Linked DNA regions of Homo sapiens: region 2 is linked to region 1. Evidence: promoter capture Hi-C in 16 types of primary human blood cells and fetal thymus (Javierre and others, 2016). All regions are on one chromosome and are shown on one strand. The core of a region is centred on a gene start or on the middle of the fragment in contact, and the rest is flanking DNA. Distances in the headings are between cores, read along the strand shown. Region 1 holds the start of DIS3L2 (DIS3 like 3'-5' exoribonuclease 2). Region 2 overlaps DIS3L2 (DIS3 like 3'-5' exoribonuclease 2).

Region 1 (3,150 bases), core at 359-2,858:
TAGTTACTAAGGGAAACCCTGAATTTTCTTAGACTACTGCAACGCACTGGCCGGGTGCGGTGACTCACACCTGTAATCCCAGCACTTTGGGACAAGATGGGCGGAAGAGTGAGACCATCCTGGCTAACACGGTGAAACCCCGTCTCTACTAAAAATACAAAAATTAGCCGAGAGTGGTGGCACGCGCCTGTAGTCCCAGCTACTCGGGACTGAGGCAGGAGAACTGCTTGAACCCAGGAGGCGGAGGTTGCAGTGAGCCGAGATCGCACCATTGCACTCCAGCCTGGGCGACAGAGCGATAGTCCGTCTCAAAAAAAAAAAAAAAAAAAAAAAGAGAAATATAGGCACAATTTAATGCATCTCTTTTCCTTTTTCAATATGGAGCATACGGTGGTTCAAGCATCTGTCCACATTGTATTCCCGAAGTTTGATCCCTACCCTGCCCTGCCCTCCCGTCTTTCCTTCCCTCTCTCTTTTTTTTTTTCTGGAGTGCAATGGTGCGATCTCGGCTCACTGCAACCTCCGCCTCCGGGGTTAAAGCGATTCACCAGCCTCAGCCTCCTGAGTAGCTGGGATTACAGGCATGTGCCACCACGTCTGGCTAATTTATTATTTTTAATAGGGACGGGGTTTCTCCATGTTGATCAGGCTGGTCTCGAACTCCCGACCTCAGGTGATCCGCCCGCCTCGGCCTCCCAAAGGGAAGTTTGATTTTTCTATGGTCACCAATGGACACTTGATCTCCATAGCTTGAGAATGGCGGCCATCCCCTCACTGGCATTCTTTCCTCTTGTGCTCTCCCGAACGTTCTGGCTGCTCTTTGGATTTCCTTTTCCTTTGCTCACATCTACAATATTGGTGTTTCCTAGGTCCCGTACTTAACGATTGTTTCCTCTCAACACGCTTCCCTGGGCGGGCTGAACTGTCGGGGGCTTTCTCGGCTGCGCTTCCTCTCTCACCTGAAACCCTCTTCCCAACCCTTTATACTAGGTCGACGTCTCCAACATCAGCTGCTCCCCACCCGTGTCTGGGTGGGCCCCTTGGGCAGGCTCCCCTAGTCTCCTTTCCTTCGATCATCCCCACGTGCAGGACGTCATCTGCTTGCTCTGCCATCAGCCTCACATCCTGAGGGCAGGGACCATGCGGGGGTTGTCCATCTCTGTATCCCCAGTGCCAGCACTGCACCTCGCCCCAAGCAGTTGTCCAATAAATGAGCAGTGAGTAAATGAAAGAATGAGCAAAGCCTTGTAACAGGAAAGGGGCCGGCGGCGTCTGCCGTGCAAGACCTGGCCCAGTGGAGCAGAGCCTGGAGGTTCAGGAGCCGGGTCTGGAAGGCTCCTTCCGGTGGAAGAGGGGCCCGGAGCCAGCCGGCGCCTGGCACAAGGCGTCTCAGAGGCCGCCCACTGGGAGCCAACCGTTGCAGCCAGTTGTCCCCGCGAGCGAGGCCGGAGAAGGCGCGGCGGCCCCTGGCCTGGCCATTTCGCCCTTGTCGCAGCTGAACCGCCGACTACGAGCTCCTGCACCGCGCACACACCCCGCGCGCTTCGCTCTCGGCCTCGCCCGGCCACCGTCGCTCTCTAGAACGCCGCGCCCGTGACCCGGAAGAGCATTCTCCTTAGCAACTGCGGGACTGCGGCGGCGCCGGCCTCCGGGGAGAAACGGTGAGGCCCTCACTCGCCTGCCCCCTGCACCGCCTAGTGCTGCACGACCCCCTCGGGACCGACCCGGGGTCTGGCCTCTGGGGGGCTCCGCGGCGCTTCGCCCGGCACCTGTGGTGGCGGCCCGGGACGAGCGTCTTCCGCCTCTGGCGTTGCTCCCCGGCCCACGCGTCTTCCCTGTCCCGCATCTCCCTCAATGTCCCCAGCTCCCCACTCTCCGCTCCTGACCGACCCGGCCTCCCAGGCCGCGCTTATAGCGCCGGGGCCCTTGTAGCCTAGGATGGCGTGAGGGGAGCGAGACCAGAATTAGAGCCTGTTGCTGTAGAGAGGACGCCTCCCGAGGCTCGGGTCACCTGTGGACGCGTTCTCTAGGGTCTTGATCGAGATGTTCAGGACTGGCAGGGATGGGGAGCCTCGGGAATCTTGAAGGGCAGCCGCTTAATTATAACATGTCCTTGACGTTTGCGCTTTCCACAGTGATACACTTTATCTCCTTTATTGATCATAGAGAGTTTTTTTTTTTAATAAACTTTTAGATATGGGGGATACGCATGCAGGTTAGTCACATGGGTATATTGCACCCAGGTATTGAGCATAGAACCCAGTAGGTAGTTTTTCAACCCACATCCCCCATCTCTCCCCTCCTTCCAGTAGTCTACAGTGTCTACCGTTACCTTTTTTTTTTTTTTTTGAGACGGAGTCTCATTCTGTCGCCCAGGCTGGAGTGCAGTGGCGCGATTCGGCTCACTGCAAGCTCCGCCTCCTGGGTTCATGCCATTCTTCTGCCTCAGCCTCCCGAGTAGCTGGGACTACAGGCGCCCGCCACCCCGCCCGGCTAATTTTTTTGTATTTTTAGTAGAGACGGGGTTTCACCATGTTAGTCAGGATGGTCTCGATCTCTTGACCTCGTGATCCGCCCGCCTTGGCCTCCCAAAGTGCTAGGATTACAGGCGTGAGCCACCGCACCCGGCCGACTGTTCCCATGTTTATGTCCATGTGCGCTCAATGTTTCTACTCCCACTTGTAAGTGTGCTCAATGTTTAGCTCCCACTTATAAGTGAGAACGTGTGGTGTTTAGTTTTCTGTTCTTGTGCTAATTCGTTTAGGATTATGGCCTCCAGCTCCATCTGTGCTGCTGTAAAGGACATGATATCTTCCTTTTTTGTGGCTGCATAGTATTCCATCCTGTACATCCACATTTTTTTTTTCCAGTCCACCATTGATGGTCACCTAGGTTGATTCCGTGTGTTTGCTATTGTGAATAGCTCAGCCGTGAACATACAACTGCATATGTCTTTTTGGTATAATGGTCTGTTTTCCTTTGGTTATATACCCAACAGTGGGATTGCTGGGTGAAATGGTGGCTCTTTAAGTTCTTTGAGAAATCTCCAAACTGCTTTCCACAGTGGCTGAACTAATTTACATTCCCACCAACAGTAGTTTAAATGTTCCCTTTCCAAGGGAGCCTAATGAGGATCTGTTGTTTTTTGAC
Region 2 (3,150 bases), core at 305-2,804, 180 kb after region 1:
CATGAGAGATCTCAGTTGAACCTTGTTCACCTCTCTATACATCACATCGCCCACATTTTTATGAATCTTGTTCTGTAATGCTATCAAAACCCAAGTGAACCCTTGCTAGCTTTTAGGGATCACTGTTTTTTGTTATACATTACAACATATTTAGTACCTTTAATATTTAGTACTACACTCTAGTCCAGGATAATTAAAAAGCCACATTGGTTTCTTCGCTGGAATGATCTGCAATTACATAATCAGATTTACAGTTTTAAGAGCTTCCCAACCTCTTAAATCATCTTTCCCTTTAGAAACTCTTGCAGTGGAATTCATGCCTATATTTTCTCAGCCCTTTGGGAAATCTGGTATCCTCAGTCTAGAGTTTACAGTTCCAGCTTCTCTTTCCGGGATGTCTTGAGCGTAGAGATAGCATGGTCACTTTCTCCCAGATTTGTCATGGTTTCTTCTTGACTATTTAAGGGTAAGTCTTGAATAAAATGGAAACGTTTTACAGCAGCTACCGTGAGGAACTTAATAGTGTTTCTTGGCAACACTGAAGGCTAGCTGAAGATATGTGACATGAATCGACCTAGAGCAAATTGACACATTTATATTATTTTATCAAGCAAAGTCTGGTGGTTTTGAGGGGTGGAGGAGGAGGAGGAAAAATGAATAGGTCATTACAGGCTGAGAAGTTCTTGGTTGAACATGGGATTGCCTAGGCTTAATGGGAGGCTGTGGAAATGAGAAACAGAGAATGGGTCACAGTGCTGCTGGCTTTAATGAGTGTGAAGGACAGCAGGTTCCATTGGAGCAGATGACGGAGTGAGGTGAAAGCAGAGGAAGGGAAATTCTGACCTTAGAGGACTGTGGTAGAGATGGGAAGTAGGGGGTGGAGGTCTGTTCTGGTATCACCTTTGTCTCCTAGCTTTTCACCTTGTGGTGGTTGTTAGCCAGTCAGCAATATTTATTGACCCATGGAAGCAAATACTTTTACATTCCATTCAGTTTTGATAGATACTCAGTTTCTTACAGGGTAGATAGGAATTGAAGAGGTGGTCATTAAATTACATTAAATACATTGAATTGTAATTAGTAGGAAAATTAAACCATGACTAGATTGATAGAAAAAACAAACAGAAGAAATTAGTTTGTTTCATTGAAGCATAGGCTCCAAGATTAGCAAACTGAAAAATAACTGTATCCAATCTTTCCCTTTGCAAAAGGAATATTTCACCTTTTTGAGAGCATGTTCTTTAAAGATAGCTCTGAGGGAGAAACCAAGTTATATAATGCTATGGACTCGCATTACCAGATCTATAGAGTTTGTATGTTCTTTTCAAGGGGTATGGACCTGGCCGGCTAGGAGGCAAAAAGCAAATCAGGCTGAGGAGGGGGCTCTTTTTTTGTGACTGTTGGGCTCCACCTGGTGGCCTGTAAGGATCAGCTTTGGAAAAAGCTGTGTCTTCAACACTGAGAAAATCCTGGTCAAGGCAGAGCAAAAGTTAAAGGAATGGAGGAGAATGATCCTGATCCAGGCTTAGGTTACCAAATTGTTCCTTTCCTTGATGAGCACTGCATGCAGTTTTGGCACTTCTTCCAAAGTCGCCATCTTCAACTGCAATTTCTAGTGCACCTTCTTGAAAATATTATGATGTTAGAGGACCTTAGATAACCATCAACCTCCTCTTATACTCATTAAATCCTTTCAGCTTCCTCTTTGCTTTCTTCATATCAACACCAATTCACTCTTAAATTTCAAGACCTTTTCTTAAATAACTCAGTATTGTTGACTCTTACTTCTTTTCTCCATGCTTTTATCTATTTTCACTGATAAAAACACCGTTCCTGAAGTCCCTATTCCTTAAGTGCTACTTTCTGCTGTGTCATAGTACTGAGCCATAAGAAGCGAAAATAACTCGTTCCCTCTCCTGATTATAGAAAATAATACATAAAATATACAGCCAAAGACAAGTGTATTTGCCACACTTCGTTTTTACTTTGTATTGTTGGAAGTTTGGGCCCTCGGTATAGTTGATGTTTGATTGTTCCCCACTTGTACATTCTCAGGGCTGTGATGCCATTATATCTGTTTGCATGGAGTTTCCAACATTGGACCAACATGTATGAGAGCATGTATTTAAGAGTAGTAATACGATAGTGGTAATCACTGCAAGAGTGCATGACTGTCTTCTAAATATCGTCTAGTTGTAAGACTAGGAGTTTATAAGAATATTTAGTAGAGGAAAGATGATGAATGGCTGAGAACACTAATCTTGACTATTTAATGTTCCTGTTTTCTTTAAGGCAAAGAGGCCAATTTGAAGGACTTTCTTGTTATATTTTTTTCTGTCTGTAGCTGGTCCCTTTCCTCAGTACGTTTTTAATAGGCATATCACCCAGGATAGTAGATCTGATGCTTATTTATATAGAATGTTTATATGTTTCCCAAGGCCCCCACCTATCATATGTAGGAAGTTGGGAATATTGTTGCAGTGCCATTCAGATTAATTTTACAGTAGGACTCAGTTGGAATGTCATTCTTTGTGAATGGCAGCAGTATTCATGGAGGAGCTCTAGTGAAGAAAAATTGAAGTGGTGATCATTATAAATAACTCTATGGAGGAAAACTTTCTCTCTTACAACTATTATTGAAATATCAAATTAACAAACATTTCTAAATTTTATTTTTTCCAAATACATACATATTGAATATTTACTGTTAAATTTATTCAAATGTGTACTATTGAAAATGAAAATTTCCCAGAGTTTCACCCCCGGAAACGATCACTATTAAGGTTTTGGTATACATTTGACTAAAATATTGTTTTAAAAATATTTATCAACTTTAATTACAAAGCATATTTCACAGGAAAAAGAATATATGTAACACTTCTATAATTTTTGAAACCTAATACTAAAACCAACCCATGAACTCATGAACCAGATTAAGAAGTATAACATCACCAATACTGTTCAAGTTCCCTGTCTGTTCTCCTGTATCCTAAACCATAATTTTTTCCCCAGAGGTAACCACCATCTCAAATATACTAATGAAAATGTATTTAAAAAAAAATTTACCCATATTTATAACCCTAAATGTTATTTTGTTTTGCTTGTTTTTGAACCTTTACAAAATACCGTGTTATATATATTCTTCTATCA

The links. Contacts are between HindIII fragments. The CHiCAGO score rates a contact against its expected background, and 5 or more counts as called.
Region 2: a fragment that was not itself captured here is called in contact with the fragment with the promoter of DIS3L2 in region 1 in 2 of 17 cell types (fetal thymus and erythroblasts); the score reaches 5.8 in fetal thymus.

The regions. Positions count from the first base shown.
Region 1 is chr2:231,960,105-231,963,254 of GRCh38, forward strand. It overlaps DIS3L2 (DIS3 like 3'-5' exoribonuclease 2), which reads left to right and starts at 1,609. Exons shown (of 21, transcript NM_152383.5): 1 at 1,609-1,661. RefSeq lists an enhancer at 1,487-1,576 and a silencer at 1,707-1,866. The HindIII fragment of the contact is 14,565 bases long and covers 1-3,150 here.
Region 2 is chr2:232,140,840-232,143,989 of GRCh38, forward strand. All of the region lies in intron 8 of DIS3L2 (DIS3 like 3'-5' exoribonuclease 2), which reads left to right. Among named protein-coding and RNA genes, the nearest start is that of MIR562, 30 kb to the right of the region's middle. The HindIII fragment of the contact is 8,971 bases long and covers 1-3,150 here.